2 separate regions of the Homo sapiens genome follow, and region 1 is linked to region 2. The links are contacts of gene promoters, found by promoter capture Hi-C in human tissues and cell types (Jung and others, 2019). All regions are on one chromosome and are shown on one strand. The core of a region is centred on a gene start or on the middle of the fragment in contact, and the rest is flanking DNA. Distances in the headings are between cores, read along the strand shown.

What was found. Contacts are between HindIII fragments. The study calls those that stand out against the background at their distance.
Region 1: a contact is called between a fragment that was not itself captured here and the fragment with the promoter of TSKU in region 2, in 1 of the 25 tissues and cell types used here (bladder).

The regions. Positions count from the first base shown.
Region 1 is chr11:77,040,268-77,046,778 of GRCh38, reverse strand. It overlaps B3GNT6 (UDP-GlcNAc:betaGal beta-1,3-N-acetylglucosaminyltransferase 6), which reads right to left. Exons shown (of 2, transcript NM_138706.5): 2 at 4,806-6,511. The coding sequence ends at 6,073. Among named protein-coding and RNA genes, the nearest start is that of ACER3-AS1, 7.8 kb to the right of the region's middle. RefSeq lists a silencer at 446-625. The HindIII fragment of the contact is 4,138 bases long and covers 1,639-5,776 here.
Region 2 is chr11:76,779,333-76,785,452 of GRCh38, reverse strand. It overlaps TSKU (tsukushi, small leucine rich proteoglycan), which reads right to left and starts at 2,097. Exons shown (of 2, transcript NM_015516.4): 1 at 2,049-2,097. TSKU-AS1 (TSKU antisense RNA 1) reads left to right here and starts at 2,391. Exons shown (of 2, transcript NR_120562.1): 1 at 2,391-2,450; 2 at 2,597-2,872. RefSeq lists a silencer at 2,151-2,240 and enhancers at 1,792-2,436, 2,671-2,860. The HindIII fragment of the contact is 14,629 bases long and covers 1-6,120 here.

The sequences.
Region 1 (6,511 bases), core at 2,458-4,957, 260 kb before region 2:
TGTTCTCTCAAGTTCTGGACAATTCTGAACAGAAGTAGTGATGATGGGTATATCTCATTTGCTCCTAACTTTAAGCAAAATGCTGTCAAATGCTTTCACCTCTTACTAAGATTTTCTTTAAAATCACTAATGGATGTTGAATTTTAATAAACGTCTTTCACATTGCCTCTGAAATGCTCATATTTCTCTTGATATAATGTACCTCATTGACGGATCTTCCTGTCTTATTTATGTAGTTTGGCTGTTTTTCTAATGCTAAGCCCCTCTGGAATTTCTAGTATAAACACACCTCCGTCCTGATAGATCTCCTTTTCACATGTCATCGCATTTCGCCTGCTAGCATTTTGTGTAAGATTTTTGTTTCCATCTAGGTTCCTGAGACAGGCGCATCATCTTCCCTGCTCATGGGATCCTTGAGGGGTTTGAGTGTCAAAGTCATGCTGGTCTCACAAGGGGCGTTGGGGGATCGCGCTCCGGGGTTGCTTCGCTGAGTGCGCGTGTGTGCGGGATGCGGGGTGCGGGGTGCGGGGCGTGCCCCCTGGCGGCCGCGGGCCGCATGAGCCGAACGAGCGGAGCGGGGAGCGCCGGGCCAGTGCCGTGGGGAGCGATGCGCCAGGTGGCGCCGGGTGACGCCAGGTGATGCCGGGGCTGCGCGGGTACTGCAGCCTTCCGTGGACCTGGACACGCGTGCAACCCAGCTTCAGAGACCGGGTGGCCAGGACCCAGAGTCACCCAGCCGACCCATAACGGCGGCTTCTTGAGTCTCGGGGCCGGCAAGGTCCTGAATCTTCATCTCTAGGAATAGAATGGGGATAATCCGCCTGTCTGTCAGGGAAATGGGAGGAGGCTGTAAAAGCATTTTTTGTGTGATTTTGTGTCAAAGCACAATTCGGACCTTCCAGAGGACCTGTCCGCATTCTGGCCTCAGCATTCTTGTTTTCCTGTTTCTTGCAAGCCCTTGACAAATGGCAGCTAGGGGCAGGGAATTCAGAATTAATGTCACTCAGTAGTCCAGAATGAGAGCTCGCATCATGGAGGTCTGTGTGGAAGAAGCACCCTTGTTTGATTCATTTTTGTGCATTATTTCATTACTGTTGATTTATTCCACAAATATTGACTGGGCACTGTGGTGGGCATAATAACGGCCGCCCAAAAAGTTGCCCATACCCTACTGAATACCTGGAACCTGTGACTGATGCATGTTACATAAGAATGTTACATGTGGCATGTCACCATGTTACATGGCAAAGAGAAGTAAGGTTGGAGGTAGAATGAAGGTTGCTCATCAGCTGACTTTAAGATAGGAAAAGAATCCCAGGTTATCTAGGTAGGCCCAGTGTAGTTACAGGGTCCTTGGAAGTGGAAGGAGAAGGCAGGAAAGTCAGAGAGTGATGTGGCTGTGGAAGCAACGCACCAAGAGCCGCCACATGGTCGGTTTTGGAGATGGAGGAAGGAGGTCTCTGCAAGCTGGAAAAGGCAAAGAAATGGATCCTTCCCTAGCACCTCCAGTAAGGAGTGCAGTTGGTGGGTAGAGCTGTAGGGTAACAGATGAGTGTGCTTTTAAGCCAAGCTTGTGGGAATTTGTTACAGCAGCAATAGGGAACTAGTACAGTATCCTAACACAGGGGTCCCCAATCCCTGGGCCAATGACCGGTATTGGTTGTGGCCTGTTAGGAACCGGGCTGCACAGCGGCAGGTGAGCAAAGCTTCATTTGTAATTTATAGTTGCTCCCTATCGCGTGCATTACCACCTCAGCTCCGCCTCCTGTCAGATCAACGACAGCATTAGATTCTCATAGTAGCATGAACCCTATTGTGAACTGCGCATGTGAGGGATCTAGGTCGCCTGCTCCTTATGAGAATCTACTGCCTGATAATCTATCACTGTCTCCTATCACCCCCGATGGGACTGTCTAGTTGCAGGAAAACAAGCTCAGGGTTTCCACTGATTTTACATTATGGTGAGTTGTATAATTATTTCATTATATATTACCATGTAATAATAATAGAAATAAAGTGCACAATAAATGTAATGCACTTGAATCTTCCCCAAACCATCCCCCACGTTGGTCTGTGGAAATATTGTCTTCCACAAAACCAGTCCTTGGTGCCAAAAAGGTTGGGGACTGCTGTCCTAACAGATACAGTCCACATCACTGGGACAGATGGCACTCATCCACTCATCCATTCACCCCAAAAGCATGTAGGAGTATTTGTTATGGCCTGCTCAGAAAATAGATCAGCAAGTGACAAGTGGCTGTGGCTACTGAAGGCCCACGGCAAGGGCTGCAGAAAGGTCACAGAAGTGCCACCTCCTCCTGCTTCCTTCAACCTCTCAGAGCTGCCAGTAAGCCTGCAGAATGACAGTACCCTCCTATGTGGTTTACAGAGGATTTACATGGCCCTGGCATGGAACATCACTGTGGAAAGTGTATTAGTCCATTTTCACACTCCTATAAAGAATACTACCTGAGACTGTGTAATTATAAAAGAAAGAGGTTTAATTGACTCACAGTTCTGCAGATTTAACAGGAAGCATGGCTAGGAGGCCTCAGGAAACTTACAATCATGGCGGAAGGCGAAGGGAAAGCAGACACCTTCTTCATGGGCAGCAGGAGGGCGTGTGTGCGAGAATGAGGAAGTGCCGCGCTTTAAAACCATCACCTCTCGCGAGAACTCACTATCACGACAAGAACGTGAGGGAATCCGACCCCGTGATCCAATCACCTCCCGCCTGTCCAGTCCTACGTGTCCCTCCCCTGACATGTGGGAATTACAATTCAAGATGAGATTTGGGTGGGGAAACAGAGCCAAATCTTATCAGAAAGAGCGGCTCAGAGAGGTGAGATGACCTACTCAAGTTCCAGGAGTGGGAGTGATGGGACTTGCCACGGATTCCCTCTGTGTAAATCTGTGACAGCCCTGATGTAAATCAGACATGGCCTCTCCCTCTGGGAGCAGCCAGTCTACTTGGTGAAAAACAAGGGATGAAAGGGGACACAGCAGGTGACTTAAGTGCTATGGTTGGAATGTTTATGTTTCCCCGGAATTCTTTTTTTTTTTTTTTTTTTTGAGACAGAGTCTTGCTCTGTCGCCCAGGCTGGAGTGCAGTGGCGTGATCTTGGCTCACTGGAAGCTCCGCCTCCCAGGTTCACGCCATTCTCCTGCCTCAGCCTCCCGAGTAGCTGGGACTACAGGTGCCTGCCACCATGCCCGGTTAATTTTTTTGTATTTTTAGTAGAGACGGGGTTTCACTGTGTTAGCCAGGATGGTCTCTATCTCCTGACCTCGTGATCTGCCCGCCTCAGCCTCCCAAAGTGCTGGGATTACAGGCGTGAGTCACCACACCCGGCCCCCCGGAATTCTTACGTTGAAATCCTAGCCCTGAAGGTGACGTGGTGATGATGTGATGATGGCAGAACCCTCACCAATGGAATCTGGGCCGCTGTAAAAGAGGCCGTGGGAGCTTGCTTGCCCCTCCCACCATGCAGTGACACAGCAAGAAGGCAGTGAGGAATGGGCCCTCGCCAGACACCAAACCTGCTGGGACCTTGACCTTAGACTTCCCAGCCTCCAGAACTTTCAGAAATGTTTGTAAGACACCCAGTTTATGGTATTTTTGTTACAGCAGCCTGAACAGACTAAAACACTAGCAGGGCAAGGCTGCTGTAACAGTAGACAAACCCCAGAAGCTGAAAAATCATAAAAGTTTTTGTCTATATTGTTCTGTCCATAATTTTTTTTAAAAGCATAAAAGTTTATTTTGTCTTCCTCAGTAGTCTGAACTGAGTATTCCAGGTTGGTCCCCGGGCTGCTCTGCTCCGTGCAGGAACTCAGGAATCCTCGTTTCTCTGCCTTCCTCTAGGCCAGCGGTTCTCTGCTAGGGTGAATTTTCCCACCAGGGTATGTTTGGCAACGTCTGGAGATACTTTGGGTGTCATGACTTGGGCTGTGATACTGGTATCTAGTGAGTGGAGGACATGGATGCTGCTGAATGTTTTACAATGCACGGGACTGCCCCCCACAACAAAGAACCGTCCTGCCCCAAATGTCAGTAGTTGAGAAACTTCCACTTGGGCCTGAAGCATTGTCCTCACTTGCAAAGTCAGAGCTGGGTCCCAGGCCCATCCATGTTCCAGCGAATGGGAAGGAGGAAGAGAGCATAAGCAGGCCCAGGTGCCACAGTGATCCTCATCCACTCCCGTCCATCCATGAGGGCCTAGTCACAGGGCCACATCTAACTTCAGGGGACGGAGTGCTGGGAAATGGAGTCTAGGTGAGTGCCCAGGAGGAAGGGAACAGCCGACTCAGGTGGGCAGCTGGCAGCTTCCCCGACAGGCGTCCTAACTGGTGCAAGAGACATGCAGGATGGAGGTGGTTGGAGGACATTTCGGTAACTAGGTCAGAGCTTGTGCAAAATGCAGAGACAAGAGAGAGCCTGACAAAGCGCAGGCACTGCCACCTGGATGGAGGCTGACAGTGGGAGGGAGGGATCAGTGAGCAGCAGGCGGGTGGCAGGAGCCTGAAATGCAGGACTGAGGAGTCTAGTCTTCGTCCTGAAGGCAGGGAAGGACCTTTGGCCAGTCTCCTGACGTTCTGCCCCGGCTCTTTCCTCCCTGAAGGTGAGTCCCTCGTGTCCATCTTACATAGTTGGGACCTTGCTGACACACACTTCTGCCTGCCTTTAGGCCGTTTCCTTGATTTTCTATGTTGCCAAGATGACTGGCAGCTGCTGGAGGTCAGGACCACAGCCTGGTTCTCAGAGCCCCAGGCACCAAGTTCCCACCCACCCTTGCAAACTCTCCTTTTTTTTTTTTTTTTTGAGATGCAGTCTTGCTCTGTCGCCCAGGCTGGAGTGCAGTGGCACGATCTCGGCTCACTGCAACCTCCGCCTCCCAGGTTCAAGTGATTCTCCTGCCTCAGCCTCCCAAATAGCTGAGATTACAGGCACGAGCCACTATGGCCGGCTAATTTTTGTACTCCCAATAGAGACGGGGTTTCACCATATTGGCCAGGCTGGTCTCGAACTCTTGACCTCATGATCCGACCTCCTCAGCCTCCCAAAGTGCTGGGATTACAGGCGTGAGCCACCTCGCCCGGCCCCACAATCTTAACCACTGTCCACTTCGGTCTCAGATCCCCCACCTCCCGAACACAATTCTACACACCTGCCTCCACAGGCTCCCCAACACTGGCCTCCATGTTCCCACCAGCCTTTCTCCACTTCGGACTCCCCGGAACTCCCTGCTGGGTTGTCCAAGGCCCACTGAGCCTGAGGCCCAGACCCCGGCAAGGAGCCTGTCTCTGACCCGTGGGGGTGATTATTGGCGGGCAGGACCCAACTAGGCCATTAGCTTTGGTTGGGGTGAGTGTGGAGGGGACCACAGTGGTGTGCTGTCTGGGAATGCCACGGCCCTGGATTAGTCACTGTCTGACCGGGCCTCTGGTTTCCACTTTGCACGGTGAAGATTTCTACCTCACGGTGTACTGGGGTAGTGGTGGGAAGAAGGCCACCACATGCGCCTCAGCTGCGTGTTGGCTGACTTCTTGGGGGAGGGGGAAGCGGGATCCACCTGATACTGTCAGCCCAGCTCCAGCTCCACTCACTTGTAAACAGTGGAAATCACAACTGACATTTGTAGGCACATGGCAGGGGGCGCTGATCCTGGCTCCCACGCTCCCAGGTCTCCCTTGCTCCACTGCTCAAGAGGACCCGAGTGTGGGAGCGAGGGGCCCGGAATTCTTGCAGAGAGGGCGGTGGAGCTGGCTTTGCGAGGATGAAGAGATAGTCTAGCCGAGTGGTCCTCAGGCCTAGCTGCACATTCGCATCACTGGAGGAACTTAAAAAATACTTAACATGTCTGGGTCCACCCCAGACTAATCAAATCGAAACTTCGGGAGATGGAGCCAGGATGTAGGCATTTTCCACACCCCCCACCCCAGCTGATTTCAGTGCGCAGCTGGGGTTCAGGTGCACAGAGCTGGGCAGGACGTAAGGTACCCAGAGCGGGAAAGCTGCCTTCTCAGCATGGACATGGTTGGAGGCCCGGGGCTGAAGCCGCCCAACTGGCCTCAGGAGACCCGGTGTCCCCGGTCACAGCTGAGCGCGGGGCTGTGCAGCGCCTTCCACATGAGCAGCATCTCGTAGGGCGCGAAGCGGTGCACTAGCAGCAACTCGCGGTACATGCAGGGGTCGAAGGAGGACTGCTGTGCGCCAGGCAGCTGCACGCCGAAGGGTCGGATGCCCTCGTGGCCGCTGGGCGCCAGGCCGGCGCGCTCCAGACACATGCCCATGTAGGCGTCGTCGATGGGGAAGAGCGGGGTGTGGCGGGCGGCCGCGCGCAGGGCCCGGGCCGTGGGGCCGGACAGGAGGAAGCCGCCGCCGCTGCAGTACACCGGGTAAGCGGACCCGGGGAAGAGCTGCGGCGGCACGAAGTACTTGCTCCAGCTGTCGCGGATGGGCACGGAGCCCTCCATGAGCTGGCCGGAGAACAGGTGGCGGCCGGGTGGC
Region 2 (6,120 bases), core at 848-3,347:
GCCCCTTCTCCGGGTTATTCCCACAGAACCCCTCTTAGGACTTGTTTTGGCCAGGTGGCTTTCAGGGAGGACCCAACCCTCTTTAGGAAGTGTCCTCAGTGCCCAGGCCAGCCTTGCTCTGAAAACTGAAGCATGAACTCTTAACTGCATCCCCTGTGTTGACCCAGGAGTTATGATTAAGAAGAAGACTGATCTGGACTTTACCACCACAAACTGTCATTTAAAAAGTAAGAGGAGAAAAGGTCAATCCCCCTCCCTTCCCTCTCCATTTTTGACTCATTTATCAGCTTTTGCCTTTCCTGGTGTTGGAGGAAGGGTAGGTGGAAGCCCGGTGGCGGTTGCATTGCAGCCTTCCTGGGGAGCAAAGTAGTGCCTCGGAATAGGTCAGGTCAGAATGGAGGTGTAGGTTAAACATCAAAGTGTTTCTGGGTTCTGGGATCTGAAGCAGTCAGCCAGAACAGAAGAGGCTATCAATACCTCCCCTTCCAGAAGGGAAACTGAGGCCGGAGAGGGAAAGGAAAATGCCCACAGTTGTTTCTTTCCCAGGTTAGCGGCCTGTGCCCTTCCATCATGTCTGCAGCATCCGACAAAGTTCTAGGTTAAAGACTGGAGTGAGCAGTGGGGAGGAGGGTGTTTACGGTTATCTTTGCGACTTAGGCTCAAAAGCCCAGCAGGCTCCTGCAGCTCTGAGCACCCCCCCCCCCCCACCTCCGGTCAGCCCCAGGCACTGCAAGTCTAGACTTATCCGAAGGGCAGGGCGCACAAAGATGAAAGAAGAATCGAAGGTCTTGAGTCACCTCCTCGCCAGGCCAAGTGTGGGCTGGCGCTGCTCTCCGCCCGGCTCCAGAGGCGCGGGTTATTCCCACCGCACGCCCCGAGCCGCGAGGGAGTTCTCGCCCTGTCCGTGCCAGAGTGACCGCGACTCCGCGAAGCTGAGCAACTTGCCAGCGCCGCACAGGGGCCAGTGGCCGTCCCAGTTGAAACCTGTGTATGTGAGGCTCCCACGGCCCCCAGCCCAGCTCCGGGTCCTGTGAGCCGGCGCCTCGGGCATGCCCAGATCTGGACTGGCAGTCCCCCTCTCCCCTACCGGGTCCGAGGGTTGGCCCCCTACCCCGGGGGCGGGCTGCAAACGGAGAGTGGGTCTCAAAGCGGAGCCTGTCTCCCTACCAAACAGACGCAACTCTGGATCACACTCTTTCCAAGAAGCGCGGGGAGGGCAACGCCAGCCGCCCTGTCCCTTCCTCTCCCCAGCCCAGGGCCGGAGCCTGGGACCCACCGCTCGCCTCTTCCTCCCAGCCGGGGTCTGAGGGGGAGTCCGCACGCTCCGCCCAGCCCCTGCCCAGCCAGTCCCCAGGCGCTGCCGATCCCCCGACCACCAATCCCGTCGCAGCCCCTTGCTGTCCTGGGACCTCAGGAGGGGGAGGGGGAGGGCTGTCTGCGCCCCCGGCCGGGTAGCGGTGGGGAGGACTGGGGCTGTTGCCCGAGGAACCGGGAGAAAAGTTTGGAGCCAAGTCGTGGGCCCGAGGGGACGGCGGGGGAGCGGGGGGGTGGGGCGGCGTTGGGCTCTCGGTGCGCACACCCTCTGCGGACACCCAGCCCAGACACGTCGGCAGGCACCGACCACGTACGCGGAGACACGCGATGCGCCCACCGACGCCCACAGCCAAGCGCAGGCCCGCAAACGTGGACACGGGCGCAAAGCAGCCGCGCAAAGCCACGGACACACAAAGGCACCGACAGCGGCGCGTCCCCGACCGCAAATCCACAAAGACCCACAAACGTGAGATGCACGTGTCCGCACAAAGACCCACACGGCCCCTGGGCGTAGCCTTTGTCTCCCGCAAGACCTCTCCCCTGGGTCGGCGTTCCCCACTCCCGCCCAGCCCTAGGCGTCCGACGAAAGTTGAGGGGCCTCGGCGGGACCCAGCCCCGCCCCTGCGCCCGGCGTCCCCAGCCCGCCCTCCGAAGGGGCCGCGAGGCTAGGATCGGGGACTTGGGATCTTCAACCGCAGCGCGGACTCTCGCCCCGCCCGGGGAACTGCACTCACCTGGAAGCCTGCGCCACAGCCGCCTCGGCACGCTCACCCCGGCGGCCCGGCCGCGGGCCCTCCGGCCAGCGCTTTTCTCCGCGCGGCGCGGCCCGCCCCCCGGTCCCCGCCCGCAGCCAGGCTCCCCCCTGCCGGGCGCCGGGTGGCGGCTCGGGCCGGCCGCGGGGCGGCTCAGGGAGTGTCGCCAAAGTGCCAGCCTCTCTCGGCGCGCGCCCCGCCCGCGGAGCCTGAGCCGAGCCCGGGTTCCACTCTAGGGAGCGTCTCAAAAGTGCGCTGCTCCCGCCCCCTCTAGTTGGCCTCGCTCACAGCTTCCTGCATCCCGGATCCCTGCCCCCTCCCCCTGCGCGCCCCAGCAATCTAAGCAGATGGCCGCACTGTCGGGAACATCTGGAGGTCGCCGGAGTACGTGCCTGTGTATGTGTATGTGTGTGTATGACTGTGTGTGTGGAAAGAGAGAGGGAATTAGTTGCTAGTAAGAAAGAGATTTGGTGGGTGGGTGAGGGCTTCCTCTTTGCTTGTTCACCGCCCCTCCCCATTTTTTTTTAAAGAGTGAAAGAGGTTCAGGGACTACCGGGAGCAAGAAACCAAGAATCTGAAGCAGAGAAAGACTGGCTGAAAGACGAACCCACAGAGAAGAGAGAGCCCGGCTCGGGCAGAAAAGCTGGCAGGAGAGGAGAGAGAAAGTCAACAGATTGAGTTTTTCTTTTAGGAGGAAACCATTGGCTTCTGGTTAGAGTTCTAAGAAGGGAAACTGGCGTGTGAGTAGGCAGCAGTTTCAGTCTATTCCCCCTGCTGTAGCTCTTGGGCTCTCACCCCTCTTTATGTTAAAAAAAAAAAAAAAGGGCAGGAAAGCATCCAAGACACTTTAAAATGAGGGTTTGCAGGAGAAATGACCTGGTGGACGCATTTCCTAGGAGGGGAGAGTCAGGTGTGTGGGTGGCTCCCAGTCTACACACCCCGACAATGCCTACCTTGGGAGAGGGGCAGTTCACAGGTGGGAGAGTTGATAGAGGCTTTGGTCTTGGGCCCTGGACCTCCCAGGAGCTTCTCCTAGACTTTGGAGGGCCTCGGGGTGCAGAAATTGGGCAATGTACCTCCTGCAGTGGCCCAGACTTGTTAACACACCCAGTCTGCTTGCTGCTTCTTTCCTTATTACTTTTTCTTATTCATTAAAAAAAAAAAAAAAAAAAGGAGTTGCTTGGGCCTGTGTGTGCATGCATGCCGGTCTACTTGGGGAAGAAGGAAGACACTAGAGAGGTGGTGAGGTAGGAGTGGAGACCACTGCCCCAGGCCTCAGGCCAGCAAAATCATCTGCTGCCCAGAAAACAAACTGGTCTTGCAGGTCCTTTCTGCACTCAGAGCCATTGTGTGGTCTTGGGGATGCACTTGGGTTGACACCTGTGGACCCTGCCAGTTAGGAATGTGCAGAGAAAAGGCTAGGAGCCTGGTCTCATATGTGTGGAAGCAGGGAGAACTCCCGTCTCTCCTCTCCATTCATTGTCCTCTCCTGATTAGAATCCCAGCTTTCAGAACTAGGAGTCCTTCTGTGATCATCCAGCTCACACTCCTTATCAGTCTTTGGGATGGCACCATGGGCCCTTTGGTATCCAGTGTCTTCCTCACTGTTGGGCTTAAAAGGGCTGCAGGGATTCAACTCCACAACCCCTGGGACCCATAGAGAGGAGTCGGGCCCCTCCCATTTCCCACCCTCCCATTCCCTCCCCTCTCTAAAGGCTCCTGGCCTAGATGGGAGAGAGACCTGCAATCAGCATCGGGTGAGGGCCAAGCTTGGTCAGGATTCAGGTTCCAGCCCTGCCACTTACCAGCTCTGGGTAACTTTAGGCAAGTTACCTAACCTCTCTGAGACTCAGTGTCTGCAACTGTAGAAGAGGCTATTGTGAGGAATAAACAAGGTAATTTAGGTAAAGCATTAGTCTGGCTCACAGGAAGCTCCTTTGTGTGGTTGCTAAATGTCTTCCGTCAGGGACTGGGGTAGAGACTGGAAAGCCCAGCAGGCTTGGGAGGGGAGGGTGCCCGGGAATGACCTCTGGACTCCCTGGCTTGTCTAGCTTATATTCCTCCTGCTTCCTCCCCTCCCATAGGGACATTCTTTTGAAGGAATGGCGCCCCCCTCCCCTTGCCCTAGACTAACGATTTCCATCCTCTCCTCCATGTGGAATTGTTTAGCGAGTCTCAAGTTCAGCATCTGAGAACTGGAGATGAAAATACCCAACTGCCCGGGAACTCAGGGAAGCTAACTCCCACTGCACTGTGTGTGCAGGTTCTAGCCAGCTGGGCTGGAGGCTCCAGGCCTCACATTTAACATAAAAGTAATCAACAACCCTTCACACTGGCTGGTAGCTGGCAGCAGTTTCTGAGCACTTTCACATTCATCATTTCCCTTGACCTCCCCTTAGGGAGAGGTGGCCTTGAGGGGCTTCAGCTGGTGGATCTCCATGAACTTTACCCACCTCCCCTCATCACTGTGCCTCCAGTTGAGAGTCTCTGTGCCTCTAGACTCTCCTCTTCTGTCTGCTGTCCACATTCCAGCAAGAGTGCCCTTTCTAAACTGCAGATCTGCAGAATGGATCATGACACTTGCCTGCTTAAAACCTTTCAATGGCAAAAGCCAAACTGCTTGGTGTGGCATTCAAGGCCTATGTGATATGCCCCCACCTCACCTTAACTCTCCAGCATCAGTTCTGGCCACCCCCTCTTACACATCCCAAGTTTTAGTCCCCTAGTCACCTAGAAGTAAGGGAAGGGAGGTGGACCTTCTCCATTCTTCATGTCTGTTCAGTGTCTTCGCCCCCAGGGAGTCCTCTCTCTGGCGAAGTTGGCCTCTCCATCTGTGATATTGCCATGTCCTTTGTATATAAGCACCATCATTTTCACCGTTCTCTTCCCCTTCTTGTGATCATCTTGGCCACTGTGACATGTCAGGGACTGTGCTGGATACTTTTAAGATCATGATTTAATCCAAACAACCACACTAGATGGATAGTGGTGCGGCCCAGAAAGGGCAAGAGATCTGTCTGGGGTTACATAGCATGTTCTCTGCGGAGCTGGCACAACATTTAGGGCTCCAGTGCTCTTTCTGTTGCCTTTTAATCTCCACAAAGAGCAGAGGTGGTGTAGCAGAAAGGCCTGGGAATCTAAGGATCCCAGGTGCAAACCATCACTCCTCTATCCCTGGCTAACTGTGGACTTTGGGTAAGTCATTTTCTCCCCTAAGCCTCAGTTTCCTTACCTGTAAAATAGGGATAAATAAGAAGCCCTATCTCCCAGGGATATCGGGGTGATCAAATGAATCAATACAGATGCAAATGTGTTATAAGCCATAGGGTGCTGTGTGCTTTTATTTATTTGCTTAGAGATGAGGTCTTACTCTGTCACCCAGGCTGGAGCGCAGTGGTGCAATCATAGCTCACTGCCACCTTGAGTTCCTGGGCTCAAGGGATCCTCCTGCCTCAGCCTCCTGAGTAGCTGGGACTACAGGCACACCACCATGTGCCTCGCTAATTTTTAAATTATTTGTAGAGACGAGGGTCTTATCATCTTGCCCAGGCTGATCTCGAACTCTTGGGCTCAAGCAGTCCTCCTGCCTTGGCCTCCCAAAGTGCTGGGATTACAGGTGTGAGCCACCATGTCTGGTCGTGGTGTGATTTTAATTGACTTACCTGAACAGCCATACTGAAGCTGCGGGTGATCTGTTGGAAGATCTCTTTTCTCGAAGAGCCCTTGAGTGGAGGTCAGAAGACACTATTCGTCCCTTCAGCCGCTTTGCTCATTTTCCATGTTTTGAGACAGGTCTTTCATTTTCTGTCCTTCATTATAGCGATCAAGCCCTGACCAGAAAACCCTTCAGATCCAATGTATCTCCATGAGCCTCCAGGATCTCTATTTTTCTTGCTGCATTTTCTTCTTTTCAGCTATCAGAAGCTGGCAGGTCTTAAGTTAATAAAGCATCAGGACCATGTGTGGAAATAGCAGAAAAGAAGAGCTGGAAGAAAAAGGATGTGTCTCCACCCCTGCCCCCCACCCTGACTCTGTAGATGTGGCATGTGGCAGG